Regions from separate parts of the Homo sapiens genome. Here all the other regions are linked to region 1. Evidence: promoter capture Hi-C in 16 types of primary human blood cells and fetal thymus (Javierre and others, 2016). All regions are on one chromosome and are shown on one strand. The core of a region is centred on a gene start or on the middle of the fragment in contact, and the rest is flanking DNA. Distances in the headings are between cores, read along the strand shown.

What was found. Contacts are between HindIII fragments. The CHiCAGO score rates a contact against its expected background, and 5 or more counts as called.
Region 2: a fragment that was not itself captured here is called in contact with the fragment with the promoter of ASAP1 in region 1 in 1 of 17 cell types (activated CD4 T cells); the score reaches 5.2 in activated CD4 T cells.
Region 3: a contact is called between a fragment that was not itself captured here and the fragment with the promoter of ASAP1 in region 1, in 1 of 17 cell types (total CD8 T cells). The highest score is 5.8, in total CD8 T cells.
Region 4: a contact is called between a fragment that was not itself captured here and the fragment with the promoter of ASAP1 in region 1, in 3 of 17 cell types (naive CD4 T cells, naive CD8 T cells and total CD4 T cells). The highest score is 5.5, in naive CD4 T cells.
Region 5: a contact is called between a fragment that was not itself captured here and the fragment with the promoter of ASAP1 in region 1, in 1 of 17 cell types (M1 macrophages). The highest score is 5.7, in M1 macrophages.

What each region holds. Positions count from the first base shown.
Region 1 is chr8:130,441,857-130,446,610 of GRCh38, forward strand. ASAP1 (ArfGAP with SH3 domain, ankyrin repeat and PH domain 1) reads right to left here and starts at 1,818. Exons shown (of 30, transcript NM_018482.4): 1 at 1,604-1,818. RefSeq lists silencers at 1,373-1,452, 1,503-1,662, 1,673-1,762, 1,803-1,902. The HindIII fragment of the contact is 9,673 bases long and covers 659-4,754 here.
Region 2 is chr8:130,015,956-130,020,709 of GRCh38, forward strand. CYRIB (CYFIP related Rac1 interactor B) reads right to left here and starts at 605. Exons shown (of 14, transcript NM_001353258.2): 1 at 415-605. RefSeq lists silencers at 1-167, 358-547, 638-707, 758-817. The HindIII fragment of the contact is 1,008 bases long and covers 2,209-3,216 here.
Region 3 is chr8:130,067,222-130,071,975 of GRCh38, forward strand. The region is part of intron 27 of ASAP1 (ArfGAP with SH3 domain, ankyrin repeat and PH domain 1); the gene reads right to left. It also overlaps the pseudogene RNU6-1255P. Among named protein-coding and RNA genes, the nearest start is that of ASAP1-IT2, 15 kb to the right of the region's middle. RefSeq lists an enhancer at 2,410-3,292. The HindIII fragment of the contact is 223 bases long and covers 2,460-2,682 here.
Region 4 is chr8:130,089,603-130,094,356 of GRCh38, forward strand. It overlaps ASAP1 (ArfGAP with SH3 domain, ankyrin repeat and PH domain 1), which reads right to left. Exons shown (of 30, transcript NM_018482.4): 25 at 2,371-2,541. Among named protein-coding and RNA genes, the nearest start is that of ASAP1-IT2, 7.2 kb to the left of the region's middle. The HindIII fragment of the contact is 2,869 bases long and covers 1,366-4,234 here.
Region 5 is chr8:130,700,396-130,705,149 of GRCh38, forward strand. No RefSeq gene overlaps it. Among named protein-coding and RNA genes, the nearest start is that of ASAP1, 260 kb to the left of the region's middle. The HindIII fragment of the contact is 2,535 bases long and covers 720-3,254 here.

The DNA.
Region 1 (4,754 bases), core at 568-3,067:
GGGCTGCTTAGCTCACAAGAAACAGGAGGGCTGAAAATCAAGTCTAGAGAACATCAGAGGGTACATTATGTGCTAAGATACTGCCCTTTTTTGGACCTGGGAGTTTCTATTTTGCACAAAAGAATGGGATAGGGAAAGTAATTCCCCGTATAATAAGCCACTCATTTTATACTTCAAATCCATTTGGTAGCTGAATCTCCAAATCCACTTAGTGGCGTTAGGTGATTTTTGTTTTTTTTAACTCCCTATCTCAAAATATGCAGTTTGAAATAAGTGCATATCTCAAAAATAGCAGCATTAACAGGACAGAAGAGAAGGCACTAAAGTGGTGAAGGCTGTGACGCAAAGAAGACGTTTCCAAATCTGTTTCATGGCTAACAGATCAAAATCTAACACAGAAGGGGCATGGGACTGAGCCTGAAGAAGTGGAAACTACTCCTGGCCATGTGATCTTGGGCAAGTCAGGTCACCTTTCTGGGCCTTCTCTGAAGGGGGTGAATCAGTTGTTCTCAAAGATCTTTTTCTTTCCAAACTGTTCACTGGGTGTTTCCAGAAGACCCGCATTTTCTTAAAGCTATCTGGCCGCGCTACAATTGCAAAACAGAAAGGCTTTGGGATGAAGGTTGCAATACAGATAACCCTGGCCTAAAAACTGATAAGCTTTTACAATCCCAAAACATTACTCAGCAATCCAGGTCCTGATGTCATCCCAGAATCAATCACGCCAAGATAACCTAACAGAGTAGACAGGGGAAAATGCGAGAGAAAGTTCTTTTGCTTTCCTGACGAGTACAGGTAAAGTTGAGGTCAAGTTAACGATGATGGTCTGCAGTTGACCATCCTTCTCCCTGAGCTACTGGAAAACCACATTATTAAAGGAAACTGCTTTAGAAGTGCCCAAGATGAACCTCTTGGGATGTATCAAACCGCAGAAAACCGGACACCGGCAAGTTTCTTTTTTCTTTGAAACTTCATGTCGCTCTCAGAAAACGCAGCAGGTCCCAAAATGGTACAAGCAGAAAACACAAGCCACTTCACGGTCCGCCCAGGAGCCAACCCCAAGCTCCAAGTAGGACTCCCCCCACCCCCTTCCCTTTCGTTTCTCTTCTTTTGCTTTAGGCAAGTGGCCTGGGGCCTGCCAAGCAGCGCCGGGTCCGGGTAGGGGCCGGGGGCCGCGGGGAACTTTCCTCGGCTGCACCAGAGACAATGCCGGGAGGGCGCCCCATCGGCGGGGTCCGGGCCGCCAAGCACGTCGTCCCGGGCCCTCCCCCGGAGGGGGACGCGAAACCCCCCAGGGCGGGCCCCGTCCCCGGCCCCACTGCAGGGGCCCCCTCTCCCGAGCTGGAGGCGAGGAGACCTCCCCCCCCCACCGGGCGGCCTCGCCCGGCCCCGCAGAGCCTGGCCGCGCGTCCCGCACACGCCCCAGCCCAGGGCCGGCGCCCTCCCCGCGGAGAAGGACACCCCGCTGCGAGAGGAGCCGGGAGCCCGCCCCGCGCCCCGTCCCGGCGCCCTTCTTCGCGCGAGAGACTGGGCAGGGGGCGCCCGCGACTGTGGGCGACTCCGCCCGGCCCCGCCGAGCGCGCCCGAGCGCCCCGCAACTCACCGGGACCTGGCGGGCCGCTGGGCATTATTCCATCGCGGGTTCGGCCGGGCGCTCGCGGCTCTCGGGTGGGAAAGCGAACTGCGACCGGGAAGCGCCGGCTGGGCGGGAGGCGCGGGCCCGGGGCTGCCCAGCGCACAGTGCTCGCCCGCGGCAGCGGCCAGGCCAGGCGAGGCGCGGGAGCCGAGCGCGGCGCAGGAAGGGGCGGGCGACCATGTGCCGAGGGGGAGGAGGCCGCGGCGACGCGAGCGGCTCGCACGATCCCGCTCGGCGGCGGAGGGCGCGGGTTTCAGGAAATCCAAACACTTCGACAGGAAATCGGAATCCTGACTAAGCATTCCCGGCCCCGAGCCGCTCCGCGCCGGGGGCTCCCGCCTCGCTTAACCCTTGGCCCGCCGGCAGCCACGAGGGGGGCGTGGGAGGGGCCCCAGACCTCGGCCGGGGTCGGGCGTCCTTCGCCTTCCGCCCCATGCCCCGGCCGGCCGGCCTCCTCCCCGCCTGAGGTGGAAGGGGTGGGATTTATCCACAGAAAACCCTGGACGCGGAAGGTGCCTTTCTAAGGCCGGGACAGCGGCAAAGGACGTGCCTGTCTTCCATCTGCAGAGGATGGACCTGCACTGTCCTGGCCGTTACCCCTATTTTCAGTAAAGGAATGATTTCACCAGGCTGCCCCCTTTCACCACTTCCTCTCTGCTCTTATAATTTTATTTTTGCCCAGTGCCAAGGGAACAGGACCTTCCCAGTCAGGATAGTATAGGAACAGTATGGAGAGTAATTGTGTGGGCTGCAGGCTCTGTGTCCGGTTGGAATATGGCCTTTTTTCTACTCATGTTACCTTGAGTAACTCGCTCAACTTTCCTGAGCCTCAGTTTCCATTTATGAAATGGATGTTAATTCCACCCTCATAGGTTTGATCTGGAAGCTGAATGTTTAGACAGGGACTGGCACATTGGAAACGCCCAAATAAATGATAGCCATGCTTGTCCTTATTATTACCATTAAAAGACATCAGAGAAAGGAGGATTTTAATTTGTGGGATGTATATTGTGCATATCTATGTCTACTTTCAAAGTCAGAGACAGTAGTCTTTCTTTAGAACTTAATTTCCCTCCTAATCATTGGGTGATTGTTTTTCTTTGCAGCATTTCAGAAACGGCTCTCTGCAGAGGAAATGGTTAGTGGCTGTGGCAGACCCCCTTCTGGTGAAATCCGAAACAGAAAACCTCACAAAATTTGGGATTTTGCTCCTAATCTGAGAGTCTGGGTGTAGTGGGGAGTGGGGGTTGTTAAACAGTCTGGAGCGGATTTACAAAGTTTGGGAAAACCAAAATCAATCTCTGACTGGGCAGAGAGGTCGGGCAGCCAATGAGTGATTCATTGTGGTTTCCCACGGAAATGCCACATTTCGGGGGTGTCTACCTGGAGGATGCAGCTTGGTGGTTTTGCTGTAAGTGTTTCAGATTCCTTTGAAACCCAATCAGACTTTGAAGAGGGAACAACATGCTCATGAGCGAAAACAGAAGCCTGAAATGAACCTGCTGGGAACTGAAAGTTGGGTACCAGCTCGTTTACTCCAAGTAAGGAACAGATACCAGTTTTAGACCCAGCATTGTTCCTTTTCTGCAATTCTCTCTCCGTGGCCAGAAGCAGTAGGACAGCTCTGAGCTGGGCACCAGGAGTCCCAGGGTCCTGCTCCAGGCCCACTGTAGCTGCCGTCCCCTCTGCCTGGAAGAACCCTTGTATGGCTGTTCTTGGCACGCAGCTCACAGCCCAGAAGTCAGCTCCGCAGATAGGTTTTCCCCAACCATGTGATCTGCTTGTCTCTGGCACCTACACCCCACCTCCACCTCTCCCAAACATAGCGCATCCTGTTTGATTGCTTCATAGCCCTTGTCACTGTTTAATGTAGCCTACATGATTGGTTGCTTATTTTTTATCTGCCCCCCACTCTCCCCACTGCATGGGTAAACTGCATTACAGCAGTACCTTTGCCTGTTTCCTTAGAACAGTGCTGGCCCATATGAGACCATCGATAAACACGTGTTGAATAAATGAAAGAAGCAAACAAACTAGAGTTGCAGATGGGACCTCTGCCTGAGGTAGGGTGGTTCACTCGGTCCCGCAGCTCCCTGTGGCTTCCTCTTTGGTGGAGAGATTCAAAAGGGAACGCCCAGTGCGGTGGAAGGAGCACCAGATGGCTCTATTAGTGCTTCTGGAAAACTAAAACTATAAGTAGGCCAGGCGCGGTGGCTCACGCCTGTAATCCCAGCACTTTGGGAGGCCGAGCAGGTAGATCACCTAAGGTCAGGAGTTTGAGACCAGTCTGGCCAACATGGTGAAACCCCGTGTCTACTAAAAATACAAAAAATTGCCGGGCGTGGTGGTGGGCACCTGTAATCCCAGCTTCTCCAGAGGCTGAGGCAGGAGAATCGCTTGAACCCGGGAGGCAGAGGTTGCAGTGAGCTGAGATCATGCCATTGCATCCCAGACAGGGTGACAGAGTGAGACTCCGTCTCAAAAAAAAAAAAAAAAAAAAAAAAAAAAAAAACCTAAGTAATTAAGACTGTCAAATGAGGTAACTATAGTCTCATTGGTATAGTCCCAGTTAATTACTCCCTCCTTTGTGCTTCCTTGGCATTTCTGTTTAAAGAATATATTTGTCATATTGTATACTCACTAGATGACTGTTCTCCTAAATCAGATGGAGGAAAGGAGTCCACATTTGTTGACCACTTGCTCTGAGTGGGTCCCTGAGCAAGGTGAACTTGAATTCATTTTAAGGCATCGGTTAAGTGCCTGTAATGTGCTAAAAAAATCTGGGCCCTACATGTGCAATGATGAAAAAGAACTATTCTTGCTAAGAAAGACAGGAAAGCTCTATCTAGTAAGCAGAGAGATAAGTACTCTTATAGAGTCATGTCCAGGGTATCCAGGGCTATTCAGAACATTGAAGGTGGAGTAGGGTGGAGATAAGTTGGAAAATGCTTCCAAGAAGTGGGTGCTCTTGAACGAACTTTCAAGGAGGAGATGGGACCTATGTAGCTAGATAAGGGGGCACAGGCCTGCCAACCAGAGTAACAAGCGTGAGTGTTAGTGATGCTCGGCTCCATGTCCCCTGGGCCCACCTCTGAGCTCACCGGCAGCTGCAATGAGC
Region 2 (4,754 bases), core at 1,463-3,962, 430 kb before region 1:
CGGGGTCAGTCCCCGCACCGACACCCGGCTCGCAGGAAGGGTCTGCCAGGGACCAGCCACCCCGACCCGAGCGCCCCCTGCCTCGAGGCGCACAAGGCGCCGGCTCCGCAGCTGGGTGGACCCGGGCGGCGGCCCCGCTGCGCGCTCCCCTCGCGTCCGCCCGCCGCCCCCCGCGCACTCGAGGCGCCTCCCCCGGGACCCCCGCGCCCGCCGGCCCGGACGCCCCCACCACGGCGGCGCCCCCTGTCCACCCGCCGCAGCGCCCGGCCCGGCGGCCCGGATGGTACCTCCGCCTCTCCCCGCACCCATCACGCGCGCGCCCCGCACCCCGCGCCCTCTCCGGGGGCAAATCGGATCCAGGGGCGCGCGCGCGGGCCGGCCGGGCGGCGGCGCCTTCAGAGCCCCGGCACGTACCTGGCGGCCCGGGCGGGCGAGGGGAGCGCGGCGCGGGAGCGCAGGAGCCTCGGAGCCTCCGGTGCCGCCGCCGCCGCCGTTTCCGGGTTGGCGGGGCTCACGTCACCGCCACAGGTTTGCGAGCTGCCCCCGCCGCGGCGGCAGCAGCAGCAGCAGCAGCAGCCCGGGCGAGTGCCAGGCGAGAAATAACTATAAAAGGAAGAGGCGCGGCGAGGAGGAAGAGGAAGCGCTGTTTACCTTCGAGAAGCCGAGCCGCCGGCGCTCGCACAAAAGGAGGACGCTCGCCTCGCGACGCGCCTCCCCCCGCGCCCAGTCCCCGCCGCATCGCGGGGCCCCGGCGTCAGCGCGCGCCGCGCCCCGGGACCGCCCCGCGCCGGCCCCCACCCCAGAACCCCGCGCCCGCCTGGCCCGTGTCCTCCCGAGCCGGGGCGCCACGGGCCCGGGACGGTGGTGACCTTGGGCAAGTCACCGCGGGGCGCGCTGCGATTGGGGGTCATCGCCCTCATTGTGCGAGGAGGAAACCCGGCTCCGAGAGGCGCAAGAGTGACCCCCAAGGTCACTGCCTGTCAGGCAGGGCTTGGGCTCGAACCCCGGTCTCCAGACCTTCAGGCCGGCCAGGTTCCCATCCCTGGGTCGCTTCCCCCTCACCTGGACTTCAGGAATGGTGACAGCCCCTGCCTGGCTCACCTCGCAGCGGGGTCAGTGAGAGGAATGCTGTCCACGCACCCATTCAGCCCTCCCGCAGATACTTACTGGGCCTACTAAGTGCCCGGGCTGTTCTAGGCCCTGGAGCTGCAGCTGCGAACCAAAACAAAATCCCTGCCCGGGAGGGGCAGCGGGGACAGGCCGTAAATATCTGATGGGTCCTATGGTGCTAAGTGCTGTGCCAGAGGAAAAATAAAGCGGGGTGAGGGGACGGTGCGGGCTGTCGGTGCTACCCTAAGCGGTTCTCCAAGGACTTTAAATTTAGTACAGAAATTCCCACATAAAAAGCTCCTCGCCATAATTCCAGTTTCAGGTATTATGGGAGACCTCATCTTTCCCCTGATCTAGAATGGAAAATACTGTGTTTTTCTCCCTGTAACAGGACATGCCTAGGAAACTGATACTCTCCTTCCCTCTGCCTTGCTCCCCTGGCCCAGAAGCCCATCCTATCATTATCTTGACATTCAACCAGAAATTTCTCGGGAAGATAGACAACATTCTCTCAAGTATCTTTCTGCTGTCCTCTAGCAGGGTATCAAAAGGGTTACATCAAAGGCTTCCATTGTCTTTCCACCTCCACCTCCAGCTATAGGGGGGTTGGAGTGTGCTCACATCATACTCAGTGCTGAGTTACCTGATTAGGAGCCAGTTGTTCCATTTCTTTTCTTTTTTCTTTCTTTTTTTTTTTTTTGTCTAAGACAGGATTTTGCTCTGTTTCCCAGGCTAGGTAGCGCAGTGATGCGATAGCTCACTGCAGCCTCAAATTCCTGGGCTCAAGCGATCCTCCCACCTCAGCCTCCCGAGTTGCTGGGACCACGGGTATGCACCACCATGCTCAGCTAATTTTTATAGATTTTTGTAGAGGTGGGTCTCCCTGTGTTGCCCTGGCTGGCCTGTTTCTCCTGGGCTCAAGGGATCCTCCCTGCCTCCGCCTCCCAAAGTGTGGGGATTACAGGCATAAACCACCACACCCAGCCCGCCAATTCTTTAACAAAGGTGCCTTGCGCCTTCTCTTGGCCAGGCCCAGTTCTCGGAGCTGGGGACCCTGAGATGGTGCCATTTCAGCAGTACTCCCTGGACTGCTCTCTAAGCTTACCCGAGCGCCAGTGCCTTCATTCCTAAAGGAAGGGAACTAATGTCCACCTTGCTGTGGGGGCTGAGAAGTAGGTGGGGAAACACTGGGTCCTGAACTATGACCTTGAGGAGAAGCAGGAAAAGGGTTTGGAAGCAGGCAGAGCTGAGCCGCTTATAAAATGAGCATTAACAATTCTGAACATTTATAAAGTACTAAGCAGGTGCCAAGTGTGTGCAGGCCCATGAAGCAGGTTTATCATGGCCCAGTGTCATGCATTAAGATACTGCAGCTGGAAGAGAGATGAGATTTGCCCAAGATCACACAGATTAGACAGCGGTGGAGCTGGGTATGTACCTAGATTGTCTGACTCCAGAGCCCAAGCACTTAGCCACTCTCAGCCTCAGTTTGTTCATCTGTGAAATGGAATGGATAATAATGACTTCGTTAGGTTATGGTGAGGGTTAAATGAAATAGCGAATATATAGAACCTAATATGGATAGGACCCAGGAGAAAGCAATCACCATTGTTGTTACTATTATCATAACTGTTACAATTTACCTTTTTTTTTTTTTTTTTTTTTGAGGCAGGGTCTCACTTTGTCACCCAGGCTGGAATGCGGTGGCGCAATTTTGGCTCACTGCAATCTCTGCCTCCCGGGTTCAAGCAATTCTCATGCCTCAGCCTCCCAAGTAGCTGGGATTACAGATGTGCACCACCACGCCTGGCTCATTTTTGTATTTTTAGTAGAGGTGGAGTTTCACCATGTTGGCCAGGCTGGTCTCGAACTCCCAACCTCAGGCGGTCCGCCCACCTCAGCCTCCCAAAAACCGCACCCAGCCTAATTTTTGTATTGTTCTGTGATGACAAGATTTTGCCATGTTGCCCAGGCTGGTCTCAAACTCCTGAACTCAAGCGTTCCACCCGCCTCAGCCTCCCAAAGTGCTAGGATTACAGGCTCAAGCCACTGCGCCTGGCCTACCATAATAATTGTTAAAGGCATGAGGTAAGGAACTTTCAGGCAAGCTTGGGATCTGTAAATAGTTTGATGTGAGCGTAACATGGAATGCAAATTTGGGGGTCCAGGAAGCAGGGAAGAATAGATGAAGGTGAGGGCAGGGCTTGGATGCCTGCTAGCCTGCACTCTACTGAATTCTGAAATATGTGGGATGGAGAGTCTAACTCTGATGTGTGTGTCTCAGAGGAGAAAGTCTCCATTCACTGGATACAGTGAGGCTGAGAGCATGAGCCTAGGCTCACTCTGATCCTGATAGGTTTGACCAATTCAAGCCATTGGGAACCTGGGAATAATACCCGGGGAAACCTCTGGCAATTCTGTAGTGACTGCTCTGTTTCCCCGGGATGTCAACCCTGACAATGGTAGGCAGAAGTCCAGCATCCTATAGACAGCACTGTCTTTGGAGTTGGGAAAGCCTGCCTGCCATTTTCAGCTGTGCAATTCTGGGCAAGTCATTTAACCTCTGACTTCTTGAATGTTCTTATCTGTAAAGTGGGAATAATAACATTATCTTCTGTTGTTGAGAGGACTATGTAAGAAAATGAGTTTTTCATGCTTTATAACTGGAAAGCAGCATGCACATTTTACTTTCAACATTAGAATCTGGTGCTTTCATTGGCCAAGCAAAGAATCTTGAAAAACCAAGATTTTAAAAATTAAAAATTAAAAAAGAAGGCTGTGCTTTCATAGCACATGTGGTCCACACAGCTTTCAAGCAAAAAAAAAAAAATAGCTATTTCCTTCATATATGCAAAAGTCCCTCAAAAATATTCCTCCAAAATGCATTTCCCTGCTGAGCATTTGCAAGAGTGCTATTATGTACAAAAGGTAACAGAAGGTAAAGTTGGGAGACACAGAGACTCAGTTTTTGTCCTGCTGTTAGTATTTTGCAATTAAGCCCACTCCACATCCCATCGTGATAAAAGCAAACTCAGCGGCATTAGTCTCCTCACACCTGCTTTTCAGTCTCCTCACACCTCTGGCCATTGGGAACCGAAAGGGAAAACTACGCCCAAGCTCACTAAGGAATGCCGTCCTGGCACTGGAGCACAGCCCTCGGAAGATGCTTCAGAGGCTCAGCTAGCCCCTTTAGGCTGGGAATCCCACTCAGTGAGGTGGAATGACTTCCCGGGACACACAGAGCTAACCCTCAAGTTGGAACAGGGTCTTTACCGGGAGATGCAGAGCCTCGGGCTTCAAAGGCTGATAAGTGATTGTTTCCTGGGGCTGGGAGGAGGGGAGAATGGGGAGTAACTGCTTAATGGATATAGGGCTTCTTTTGGGGGTGACAAAAATATTTTGGAATTAAATCAAGTGTGGTAGTTGCACATTAGTGAATGTACCACATGCCACCCAATTGTTCACTTTAAAATGGTTAGCTATGTGTCATATGAATTTCACCTGAATTTTAGGGAAAGAATAACTTGACGGATAAAAAGCTAGTGAGCAGAACCTTAAGTATATTTTCAGTATTTCAGTATATCCACAATAGCATTGCAGAAATGAACCAATATGTCAGAATCATAGCAACAGAGTGCGGTAAC
Region 3 (4,754 bases), core at 1,321-3,820, 370 kb before region 1:
GGATATATGTTTTGCACCCAGAAATGTTGGGTGACCCATACTAGAGTTAGATGAGTGGTGGTCACATCTACATGTAGTTTAGTGTGAGTGTGCCACAAGGCCTCCTACAGCTTTCCTTGTCTCAGGGTGGGACCATTCCCTAAAGGAACTCAGATCCACTATGTGATGCCCACTATTTTACTGATTGATTGATTGACAGGGTCTCACTCTGTCACCTAGGCTGGAGTGCAGTGGTGCAAACATGGCTCACTACTACCTCGACCTCTTGGGTCCAAGAGATCCTCCAGCCTCAACTTCCTGTATAGCTGGGACCACAGGTGCGGACCACCACACTCTGCTAATTTTTCAAATTTCTGTAGAGACAAGGTCTCATCTCATCATGTTGCCCAGGCTGGTCTCAAACTTCTGGACTCAGGTGATCCTCCAGCTTGGGCCTCCCAAAGTGCTTGGATTACAGGTGTGAGCCACCGTGCCCAGCCCCACTGCTTTAATCCCATTAAGAACCCAGTGTTTTCCTGTATTCTGCTTAATAGCTTTTCATCCACAAAAGGAACGGTGATAAAAGTGTACATAGCACACTGCGGCATGTTGTGTATGCTGCCATTACATTTTGTCCTTTACACCCAAAGATCTTTCAAAGCATCTGATCATCAAGGTTTATATTAATAGCGACATAAAAATCAGTCTGCTGGGAGCCGTACACCACACATTTGGTATCAGCGAAGCAGGATTTGTTGGAACAGCTCTGACTCACAGAAACATGTGGTTTGAGAAGAGAAAGGATAAAAGGGTGGGGGATCAGGAATCTTTGGATTCCTATGTGGCCATGTGGTCACCCAGGGTATGAAGCCACAGCTGTGCTGAGATCAGTTACTAAAGGTAAAAGTTACCAGTGGAATTCAGAGATGGATCCAACTCCCCAGGAGTTGGGGCACTGGATGCATAAAGAAATGCAAACTAAGAAAAAAGTGAAATATTTAATCCCTGGTTATTGTTGTCTATAATGGCTAAAATAAAAGAGGGTGCTGGGTCAGGACTTGAGGCTGGACTAAGCTCAGATGTGGGTCTGCCTGAGCTTAGTCCACTAGCCTTAAAGTTACCCACAAAGGAGAAAATTACGCAGGGACAACAGAAAGTACCTCTGAGACTTGTGGTTACCAAGAAGGTAGTCAATGTGAAGGAGGGGCAAAACTAAGTAACTATGGAAACTAGAGGGTATAGTGCGAAAGAACTGTTTCATTCTGTAGATCAGTATCATCAGCTTCCTGAGGAACCTTTACTAAAACGCACTGTAAGAGTGACTAATTTAGGGGCAGTATCTTTGGTTTTAAACACTACAGAGTAGAAGTACATGTTTGGATTGATGGGACCCACAGCTCACTATTGAACAACTGCATATGGGTATATATGATCCAGACACACAGGAGGCTATTCCTGCGGTAACTGGCAGCTTGGTGGAACAGATAAAAGCCACTGTAAGGTCTGTTCACCCTGAGAAGGGGGACTGTCCAACTCTACCTACAAATGTCAAGTGGGACACCCCAGATGCAGTAGCTGATATGCTCTGTATGCATGTGGGACTGGCTTTATGATGACAGGGCTATTCACACGCTGAACATGCCTGTTACCCAAGTCATGGTAAATGTGTGGTTAAGAGGGCCCCTTCTACATGGGCACCCCATGTGATATTACTCCTACAGAAATGAACAGTTCAAGAAGCCTTATTAAATTTGCTGTCTCAGCTTCCCTTCATGGGTCTTATAGATGCTAATAAAAATATTAGGTTAATTAACAAGAGAACAGGGAAAGGCAAAAGTGAGAGCCAAAGGACTCCTCCCAGGAAGGTGGAAATTTTAAAATGGTTATTAACAAATAAGGTGAAGAAAACACTGATAGGATAAAACTAAGAAGAAAAAGAAAGGGGAGAGTCATGGGACTCATCCCAGCAGGGTAGAAATCTTTAGATGGTTATTAAGAAATGGAATGAATAAAATGGAAATTGATACAGTTAAAACAAAGGTCTTTGTTTTTTGAGGCAGGGTCTTGCTCTGTCACCCAGGCTGGAGTGCAGTGGCGTGATCTTAGCTCATTGCAATCTCTGCCTCCCAGGCTCATGCAATCCTCCCACTTCGGCCTCCTGAGTAGCTGGGACTACAGGCATGTGGCACCACGCCTGGCTAATTTTGTGTATTTTATGTAGAGACAGGGTTCTGCCATGCTGCCCAGGCTGGTCTCAAACTCCTGAGCTCAAACAATCCACTCGCCTTAGCCTCCCAAAGTGCTGGGATTACAGGCATGAGCCACTGCGCTTACCAAAACAAAGGTCTTTTTTTGCTGTTGTTAAAAAATAACGTGTCATTCATGAGCAGGGGCCATGCTAATCTTCTCTGTATGGTTCCAATTTTAGCATATGTGCTGCCGAAGTGAGCACAACAAAGATCTTAATACAACATTATCGAAGCTTGGGTGGACCAAACCCCTCCGCTCTCCCAACATTAAACGGCCCTAACCCAGTTTACTGTATTTCTTGCAGTTTGAAGAAATTTTAAAAGTTGCAAGGTAGAGATTACAATGAAACATATGATATGAAATTGCCTGGGGCAAAAATGGGGCAGACTAATCAAAATAAAGATTGACAAAAGGTCCAGGGTCCTTTGGCTCAACCCTTGGCAGAAGACCCAAAGCTTTTTGCGCAAGAGAGAGTAAAATGGTCTGGGGGTGAAGAAGTTCCTGAAACTAGAATATAAAAATGTAAGGGTTGATAGGATGATGAAAGTTGGTATATTTGAACACACTTCATGTGAATTGACTGCATCTCTTTTTTTTTGTTTTTGAGACGGAGTCTCACTCTGTCGCCCAGGCTGGAGTGCAGTGGCGCAATCTCGGCTCACTGCAAGCTCCGCCTCCCGGGTTCACGCCATTCTCCTGCCTCAGCCTCCTGAGTAGCTGGGACTACAGGCGCCCGTCACCATGCCCGGCTAATTTTTTCTATTTTTTAGTAGAGACGGGGTTTCACCGTGTTAGCCAGGATGGTCTCCATCTCCTGACCTCCTGATCTGCCCACCTTGGCCTCTCAAAGTGCTGGGATTACAGGCGTGAGCCACCGTGCCCGGCCGACTGCATCTCTTTTATTTGATTGTATCATGGTAATGAACACAGTATCACACTGGAGAATGTTTCCCCTACCTGGTACTATAAAACAGAAGGCATGTAAATCTGCTCTCCAATATTAATTGGACATGCCCAAGCCTGCAGAGTGCAGAGTAGAAGCTAGAGTGCTGGCAGGGACAAACTCTCCACTTGATAACCCCCTGTGGAGCAGTTCCTGGGGCTTATGGCAAAAGTGTTTTGAGCACCTCCCAGCAACAACTACTGGGACTTTGGAATAGAGAATTTCCACTTAAGGGACCTTGCTATGAAATGTTAGTTGAAGTTACCCCTATGACATCTGAAATACCCATGCTGTCTCAGGTGATGTCCAAGAACATTCTAATGGGGAAGGCAGTGCCTAGAAGAGTTCCACAATAAAATGGAAATGGTTTATAGAGGATCATGCTACCTGAGGAACTCAAGGAGGAGATACTCCTTGAGGGGAGAGAGGGAGAGAGGGAGAGAGAGGGAGAGAGGGAGAGAGAGGGAGAGAGGGAGAGAGAGGGAGAGAGGGAGAGAGGGAGAGAGGGAGGGAGAGAGAGGGGGAGAGAGAGGGGGAGAGAGAGGGGGAGAGAGAGGGGTAGAGAGAGGGGGAGAGAGAGGGGGAGGGGGGGAGAGAGAGAGAGAGAGGGGAGGGGGGGAGAGAGAGAGAGAGAGAGAGAGAGAGAGAGAGAGAAAGCAGAGTTTCCCCAAATCATCTAAGAAAAAAAAGTATTTTTTCTCCCCTACCCGATGCAGTGATCCTAGGACAGGAGTTGCTGGGACAGCAAAGATGATTTTTGTTTTTTAGCTATGGGGTCTCACTGTATTGCCTGGGTTGGTCTCCAACTCCTGACTTCAATCCATCCTCCCATCCTTCCACAGAGCTTAGATTATAGGTATGAGCCACTGCGCCCAACACTTCAAAAAATTTTTAGCAGGAATGCTAAGTAAAAAACTGTAACCATGTTTTTAAATATTATGTCAAAATTCCTGAGGGCATCATGGGGGTGAGATGTGCCTTCACCCCTTCTAACAAAATTGGGGCTAACAGTGAATATGGCCGGTGGTAAAAATAGCTCATTGGTTCTGCATCTATGTAGCCTCACCCTATCTGAATGGGAGTGGACTGAGGAGCTACTTGCTAGACTTGTATTGCTGCTTGTAATCTAGACCAGCACAGTGGTGATTCTAATGTCCCTTCAAAAAAGTTTGGAGATTAATGGAGAGAAGGAGAAATAGTAGCTGAGAGTAAACAAATAAATGGGCAAATGAGACAACTCAAAAGAGTCTCAGGGCAAGAGATGACACTGCCTCTTAGCTCAATGATTCCACATGCCTGAGAGGGTGAAGCTGTGTATTTACCCAGACCACTCCTGCTTGTGGAACCTGACAATATTGAGAGGAAACCTGCAAACCTGAGTGTCCTCATCATCCTGGGAGACATTCATACACTATGATGGACTGGACTAATTATTAATGATTGTGTATATATATGTTTTTTGATATAAAGGATCCACAGTAGAAAACCAGGGAGTAGGCTGTGGTGCTATGATATGTATTAGTTTTCGTCCACAGTTGCTGGCTTATAACCCTTGTTATAGTCATCTGTTATTATGTTAGGT
Region 4 (4,754 bases), core at 1,550-4,049, 350 kb before region 1:
TTGGCTTCTACAATACAATGTCAGCAGGAGGCGGGGAAGGGATAAAACCAAGCAGTAATAATACAACACAGACCTCAAGCACTAGGAGCAGAGCAACTATAACCTTTCTAAGGAGAAGTCCAGCCGTGTATGAATGCACCCACACATACATGCCCATTACTGACCTGTGTCTGTAGACAGTATATCTCACATACATGCATGTACACCAACATATGCTTTCTAAAATCAAAATTTAAAAAAAAATTTAAATTGTTTTTTAAATTTAAAATTTTGATTTCAACAATCAAAAGTCCATGCCATGTGGCGAACTGTCACTGTGGCCGAGGACAGATGATGATTTTTGTCCTTCAAGGCTGGTTGTAGGTGAGAGGCTCTTAGCTGGTGAGAAACTGACAGACAGAACAGCGTCCTCATCTGGAAAAGGTTATAAGGCTCCCAGCTCACTGTCAGGCACTCTTTTAAAGTAAATTTTGTTTAATAAAAAATGCTCCCTGACCCATCAACAATGGGGGGAAAAACGGCCAGCTGCTAGTCTTGCTCTTGAGTGATGTGAAAATCTAAAAAAGTGATGATTTTCAAGCCAGAAAGCAGAAATTTGGTAAATTTATTTGAGGAATGTTCGAGTCTATACAATGTGAATAAAGGCACTTCAAACCTTAAGAAATAAAGCCACTTAAACAAGAGGATTAAAACTTAAGAGAAATTTGGAAAGGAGGTTAATTTGTGATATGAAACGCTGATGTGAAACTTGTGACTTTCATGGAATGTTATTTGGGGGAAAGGCCTTTTTGATGAAATCTGGGGATCCCGAAGGCCTTACACAGCAGCCTCTGAAAATGTCACGGACATCCTTAGTCTTTATGTACATATGTGCTAGCACACCTCAATTGTTCTTGCCTGGCTTGTGGGAACTAATTCATTAACACCAAACTCCAATGTCTCCTCTTCTCTAAACCTTCCCTGGCTTTCCTCTAAAGTCTGACATTCAGTTTTCTGGCATTTCTAGTGTTTAGACAACATGTCTATCCTGATAGTAAAGAACATGTGCTCTAATGACTTACCCACGTGTGTCCTGCATTAGACCATGAACTCCACGAGCATATGGACTGAGAAGGCCCAAGCAAGGGGCATAGTAAGTGCCTCAAGTAAGCAAACAGAGTCAGAGAATGAACGGCTAAATGCACACACATGCTTGCACACACATAACCCGGGGTGTCTGGGCCAGATGGTGAACAGGTGACAATCAGCAACGGGACAATATAACTTTCCCCCAAAACTCAAAACACAAAAAATATGAAGAAAGCCACAATGAAACTCCACAGCAGGAAGAGGTGAGACACACAAACTAACAAATTTATTCAGCAAAGCTTCTGTGAGTGTCTGTCACGGGCCAAGACCCTGTTTCGTGATGGGGTGACCCCTAAGTCGCTAGCAGGCTAGTAGTAAAGATGGGAATTATGTCCCTTGTAGATGGGAATTTGTCATGTGCAGTCAATGTCACTGAAATGATTAACAAGCTGACTCTGGGCAAATTTATTCATTCTCAAGTGATTCCTGAATATTCACTGTATGCCAGGCGTGGTTCCAGTAAACACTGGTGAGAACAAGACCAAGACAAGGTTCTGGCTCTCATGGAGCTTACATTTTAGTGGGGCGGCTTACATTCTGTGATAAGGTGTTTGGGGGAAAACAGGTAGGGAGGAAGCTGCGTTGGAGGGCGGGGGAGATAGACATGCTGGCTGAGAACTCAAGGATGAAAGGGAAGCAGCTGTTCAAAAAGCATGACAGAGTTCCAGGGAGTGGGAGGGCCCTCAGGAGGCAGAGGATGGTGTATCCAAGAAGTGAAAGAAGGCCAGCCCTGAAGATAGAGTGGCAGGAGAGGGTCTAGGAGATAAGAGCCCGATCATGCAGGGCCCTGTGGGCCTTGATATAGGGAGCTTGCATTTATCTGAAGCTCAAAAGGAAATCTCAAAAGGGTGTTAAGGAGAAAAGTGACCATGAGCTGATTTACACTTTATAAGAAAACCATTCTGGCTGTTGTGAGGAAAATGGATTACTTTGCTTTTCTGAGCCTCTGTTTCCTTATATATAAACGAGACTAATAATACCTACCTCACAGAGTTGCTATTATAATTGAGTAAGATTTAGGAAGTGCTCAGCACCTTTTAGTTTTTAATGGCCTAAATATTTTTCAAAATGTTCCTTTCCCTTAAGAGACAGGTAGAATCATGTCATATATACCCGAGTCAGCACCCAGCATGTGTGTGCATTTTGGCACACTTTCTGAATGTGCTAACAGGCCACTGCCCAGTGGAGCCCCACACGCTGCCTGGCCCCAGCAGCTTTGGCCCTGACTTTAGGATAACTTACCCCAAGGAACTGCGCCTTTGTTTGGGGGCCCATGAGGTAGTGGGCTGGGAGGGTCGGATAGGGTTCTCTTGTGTCCGGGTGGTGGGGGAGGAGGCCTCTTCTTGGATAGGGTGGAGCTGCCACTAGAGGTCTGGGTGCTTAGAGGGAGTGTTGAAGGTGGGCCAGTTGGACCTAGAAAGGAAATTGAATGGGGGCAGGAAGATTAATCCCAGTCTCACAGATACAAAACAGCCAGTATGAAATCACTTCCACACATCAGAATGTGGTATGACACACAGAGACAAAAGCAAAAGGCTGGATATGGCTAACTCCATCAACCTAATAACTCACAAGTAGGGTTTCAAAAATTTGGTTAAAAAAAAAATAAAATTGGCCAGGTGCAGTGGCTCATGCCTGTAATCCCCTGCACTGTAGAAAGCTGAGGTGGGAGGATTGCTTGAGGCCAAGAGTTTGAGACCAGCCTGGGTAACACAGCAAGACGCCATCTCTATAAAAATTTAAAAAATTAGCCAGGTGTGGTGGTGTGTGCTTGTAGTCTCAGCTACTTGGAAGACTGAGGTAGGAGGATCACTTGAAGTCAGGAGTTCGAGGATACACTGAGCTATGATTATGCCACTGCGCTCCAGCCTAGGCAACAGAGAAAAATTTACAACAAAGGTAAGAAGAGTGTGTGCTTTTAGGAACAAAATGCCAGTCAACACAGAATGCTACTGAGTTTAGATCATTTAGGTACAATGGGAAAAACAAACACACACACACATCTTAAAACAATAACTCCTTATAACCATCACAGAACCTACTGAAGGAGAAATCACACACCACTACCAGCAAAATCAACAGAGAAAGAACAGAGTACAGGCTAAGCCTTCACTGGGCCACAAGCTGAAACATGAAATGATTCATATAATAGAATTTTTCTTTCTACAACTTTTTCTTCTAGTCAGCAAACTGCCTGACGCTTTTCTTAAAAAAAAAAAAAAAAAAATTAAGGCTTTTCTAAATAATGAAGAAAGAACTGGACGTAAAGCATTACCTAGAAAAAAGAGAAATCCAAAAACCCTTTGCTCTAGAAACCAAACCATCTGTTATATTGGAAGCCTGAACAACATTTATATAGACACTGATTTTTATAGACTAAAAAAAAGACTCAACTTTCTCCAGAGCTAAAGACAAGACAGCAGGAATGATAGTAATATTCCACATACACACAAAAATGGGGTTCGTTTTTAAAAGCTGTTAAGGGAGTAGTGTATTTGATCTTAGTTTTGTTTATTCAAAGTGACATTGAAGTGGCTGGTGTGTGCCAGGTATTCCATGCTGGGCACTTTCACTACTATTGCTTTATTTAAGGTATATGGTTTAACTGTGTTCATGGCAAACTGCTTCTGTAAACGTTAAGAAAAAAAAGCTAGGACCAGGCACGGTGGCTCTCGCCTGTAACTCCAGCACTTTGAGAGGCCGAGGTGGGCAGATCACTTGAGGTCAGGAGTTCAAGACCAGCCTGGCCAACATGGTGAAACTCTGTCTCTACTAAAAATACAAAAATTAGCCAGGTGTGGCGGTGCACGCCTGTAGTCCCAGCTGCTCGGGAGGCTGAGGCTGGAGAATCGCTTGAACCCAGGAAGTGGCGGTTGCAATGAGCTGAGATCATGCCACTGCATTCCTGCCTGGCTGTCACAGCGAGACTCCGTCTCAAAAAAAAAAAAAAAAAAAAAAAGAAAGCTAAGAACACTGCCACACTGAATGTTTAACACAGATTAGTAGATACCTAGTAATCCAGAAGGGCTCCAAAAGAGCTTTATACACTCTTCATATTAAAAAAAAAAGTCTAATTACTGCTGGCCTCTTTCCTTGGTACAAAGTAAGCTTTCCTATTTCCCATTGTCAATTACTAGTCCCTACCAATATTGACTTAAACCATTATTTCTATAAGATAGGCTAGTTCTGAAAGTAAATACTGTTAATCTCAGTAAAATTATCATCTGCTTTAGGTTTAAATTGCCAGGCTATATAATTTACATCTTTGTCCCATTGCGTAATTCTATTACACAATGGAAGCCTGATGCTTACCCCAAATCAACACTTAATTAGGGTGTCAGTCACAGCAGTTTTCAGAAACTATTTTATTTTTGTAACAATACAGAGATTGTTATTATGGCCTTGCATCTGTATAATGCTTTGTAGTTTTCAAAATGTGTTTATATATGCTATTCCTCAGCTTCTTCCCTAGGTTTATCGTTAAAAAAAATTTTTTTTGAGACAAGGTCTTGCTTTGTCATCCTGCTTGGAGTGCAGTGGCAAGATCACAGCTCACTGCAGCCCTGATCTCCTGGGCTCAAGCAATCTTCCCTCCTCAGCCTCCTGAGTAGCTGGGACTACAGGCA
Region 5 (4,754 bases), core at 737-3,236, 260 kb after region 1:
GACCAACCTGGGCAACATAGAGAGACTCCCATCTCTACAAAAAATTAAAAAATTATCTAGGAATAGTGGCTATACCTGTAGTCCCAGCTACTCTGGAGGCTGAGGTAGGAGGATCGCTTGAGCCCGGGAAGTCGAAGCTACAATGAGCTGTGATTGCACCACTACACTCCAGTCTGGATGACAGCATGAGACCCTGTCTCAAAAAAATGAAATAAAATAAAAAGAAAGAATGTAAAGGAAATTACAGCCCAAAGAACTACAAAATGATAAAATTCATCAAGAAGAAAAACAAATATGGAAGAAAGAAGTAAGGTTCAAGAAAATACTGTAAACAAAGAAACTGTGGAAATATGTAGTTACTCATGAACTATTTAGAGTAAAACCTACACATGAACACACACACACACACACACACACCTTTTTGGATTTAAATAAAACAATGGAAGAAAAATTTTAGACAATAATAACGTAAAAGCTAGAAATGGGGCAGTTCTAATGATTTAAGACAGGGGCGTCCAATCTTTTGGCTTCCCTGGCCACTTTGGAAGAAGAATTGTCTTGGGTCACACATAAAATACATAACATTAATGACAACTGATGAGCAAAAAAAAAGTAAAAAGAAAAATCTCATAAAGTTTTAAGAAAGTTTACGAATTTGTGTTGGGTTGCATTGAAAGCCATCCTGGACTGCACATGGCCTGTGGGCCGTGGGTTGGACAAGCTTGATTTAAAACATGCCAAGTGTCTTGTCCTATTTGAAAGTGAGATAGAGATAATAAATTTGGACTTCATGAGAAAAAACTAAAGAAATATTACGTAAATGCAGTAGTCCCCCCTTATTCACAATTTCACTTTCCATGGCTTCAGTTACCCACGGTGTAGCACAATACGATATTTTGAGAGAGAGGGAGACCACATTTATATAACGTTTATTGCAGTATATTGTTATAATTGCTTTATTGTATTATTAGCAATTGTTAATCTCTTACTGTGTCTAATTTATAAATTAAACTTTGTCATAGGTATACATGTATAGGAAAAACATATATATGGCGATCAGTACTATCCGTGGTTTCAGGCAGGTAGTGGAGGTCTTGGGACATATTCCCTGCCAATAAGGGGGAATTACTGTAGGTCGGTATTAATATGTCTCAAATATTTAGCATTTTTTGAGGAAAGAAGAAGCATTGTATGTGACAGATTGATTTTTAAAACATGCTCAATTCTTTGTCCCTCCTTATGCAAATAACTTTGCAGGTCCTCTTAACAAAAGTCTCTCTCTCTGTTTTTTTATTTAAATCCCTTTAATCTGGGCTAGTTTGTGACTTTCTTTGGCAAGGGAATGTTCTGGAAGTAACGCTGTGCCAGTTTTGAGCATAGCTCTTAAGAAGCCTTTGTGGTTTTGGAGCCCCAGCAGTGCCATGGGAACAAGGTAGGGCTAGCCTGCTGGGAGATGAGAGAACTGTGGCTCAGTTACATCTGTTGTTATTGCTAACAGCCAGCCAACACCAGCCATGTGACTGAAGCCGTCCCAGAGCAGCCAACTCCCAACCAGCCCACTGTCTGATCAAGATGCATGAGCATGCCCAGCTGAGATTAGCTGAACCTGGCCCAGATCAACAAGACTGTCCAGTTGACCCATAGACTCATGTGTCATAATAAGTGCTTATTTTTTTAAGCTGTTGCATTTTTAGCTGGTTTGTTAAACAGCAATAGTTAATAGTATCCTGCATGCTACAGTAGAAATATTCATGAATAAGATGTAATGAACATGAACTTATGTAGACCTTGTAATATAGTTTAAAATATGTGAAGCTAAAATTGATGGAATTATAAGAAAAATTGATGTAGCTATACTTTTAAGAGCAGATTTAATATATTTATTTATATTTATTTAATATATTTATTTATTGGTAGCTCTTTGACTTATAGGTCAAGAGCTACCAATATATTAATATATTTATTTATTAATATATTTATTTATTGGTAGCTCTTTAACCTATAGGTGAAGATATTTTGAGAGAGAGAGAAAGAGACCTATAGGTTGAACAGCTACCAATTCATTGAGAGTGCAGAAGTTTGAAAACTGAGAACAAACTTGAAATTATATATGTGGCTTCATGAAAACATAGAGGATGTACATACATACATACAAAACATTTATAAACACACAAGAACATTTATAGACAAACACACATAGAACATTTATAAACACTATGTATCAAACCATAAAGTTTTAACAAAATCCAAGACATTGTAGAGACCAGATTTCTTTCCAAAATGCAATTTAATTAGAAATTTACAAGTAAAATGTAACTTTTAAAAATACATATACAATTTGGACTAAGTAAAAACCCACTCCTCCTATGCCTCAAAGTAATCACAATAGAATTTAAAATCATTTAGAATGAAATGTTATTACTGCACATTCAAATGTGTGAGATGCAGTGAAACAGTAGGTGAGAGTAAACTTACAGCTTTAATCATGTTTATTAAAAAAACTAGAGGTATGGGAATTACATTTCAATAATAAAACAAAACAAATACCAAGAGACCATAAATCACAAAATACACAGCCAATGAAACCTGCTGATAGATGAGTTACCCTTACAGAGATAAAGAAAGCTACTATATAAAATAATAAAATGCTTTTCATTTGAGGAAATATAACAATGCTAAATTTTCATGCACCCAGTACCACAGCTTCAAATGAAATAGACCAACAGCATTAAAAAATATAAAAGATAATCAACAAATTCACCATCATCAATCATTCAATGTTTTTTCTGGAGGTCAAGCCAATATAATAAGATAAGAAGAAAGAAGTGATATCTAACATTTGGAAAGAAAGAAACATTATTTGCAATGTAATGATTATCTGCATAGTAAATGCAACAGAATCTACAGACGAATTATAAAAATAAATTTGGTGGTGTTAGAAAGAAGCGACATAAGCAAGATTAGTATTTAAAAGTTGATACGGTTTGAATGTTTGTCCCCTCCAAATCTCATGTTGAAATGTGATTTTCAGTGTTGGAGGTGGGGCCTGGTGGGAGGTGATAGAATCATGAGGGCAGATCCCTCATGAATGGCTTAACAACATCCCCTTGGTAATAAATGAGTTCTCGCTCAGTTAGTTCATGTGAGCTCTGGTTGTTTAAAAGAGTCTGGGACCTCCCTCTTTTTTTATCTCTTGCTTCTGCTTTCACTACATGACATCGCCTGATCTCTCTTTGCCTTCCACCATGATTGTAAGCTTCCTGAGACCTCACCAGAAGCAGATCCTGGCACCATGCTTCCTGTACAGCTTGCAGAACCAGAAGCCAATTAAACTTCTTTTTGTAAATTAACCATCCTCAGGTATTCCTTTATAGCGATGCAAGAATGGACTAATACAGAAGTCAATGGTATTCCTATACATCAGCAAAAGCCAGTTAGAAACTTAATAGAAAACAAAAAACATAATGGAGCATAGAAAAAAATCCGGTTTGTAATTATAGCATGAAAGTACTTGAATTAAATTAATGAAATGCATGAATGTCCTTTAGAAACCCATATGTCCCATAGAGAAAGTTAGAAAATATTGTTCAAGGATATTAAAAAAAAATAGTCTATCTTCGCATATGTACTTTAATAAAAATTCCCCAAATAATTTTTTATTTTTGGTTAGGAATTAATAGAATACAGGCTGGATGTGGTGGCTCATGCCTGTAATCCCAGCATTTTGGGAGGCCAAGGCAGGCAGATCACTTGAGGTCAGGAGTTTGAGACCAGCCTGGCCAACATGGTGAACACCCATTTCTACTAAAAGTACAAAAATTAGCCAGGTGTGGTGGTGCATGCCTGTAATCCCAGGTGCTCAGGAGGCTGAGGCATGAGAATAGCTTGAACCTGGGAGGCGGAGGCTGCAGCGCGCTGAGATGGTGCTACTGCACTCCATCCTGGGTGACAGAGCAAGACTGTGTGGAAAAAAAAAAAAAAAAAAAAGAATTAATAGACTACAACTCTTGAGGAAGAAAAATACATCAGAAATCTGGATCTTTTTTTATGAAGAACATTAGCTTTCATTAAAGGGAAACTATAAAACAAATCTCTGATCATGAACATATTTTGTTTATTCTATTTCTAGGCTCAGTGTTCTAGTTTCTGTTAAACTATTAAATATTAAAAAAATAAGCAAGATTTTTTTTGGTAAAAGATACCCAATCAAATTGTAGCAAAGATCTTAAATAAGATTACCTTTGGCTAAATTCTGTTATCTGTAAGTTATAGGTTTCTTTGAAAAATAGAATAAAGATGGTATACTATACAGAAAGCCTGGAAACACAGGGAAAATAACACATTTTTTGTGCTGTTCTTAAACTGATAATTGAATTCATTGCTTTACATTTAGAGATATGAAAAAGCATCTGAAAGTTGATAAAAATAAATAGAACATATGATTTGAAGAATGCAATGAATATATTATTTAAGAATAAATTTATTCCCAGAACTTTGGGAGGCCGAGGCGGGTGGATCATGAGGTCAGGAGATCGAGACCATCCTGGCTAACAAGGTGAAACCCCGTCTCTACTAAAAATACAAAAAATTAGCCGGGCACGGTGGCGGGCGCCTGTAGTCCCAGCTACTCGGGAGGCTGAGGCAGGAGAATGGCGTGAACCCGGGAAGCAGAGCTTGCAGTGAGCCGAGATTGCGCCACTGCAGTCTGCAGTCCGGCCTGGGCGACAGAGCGAGACTCCGTCTCAAAAAAAAAA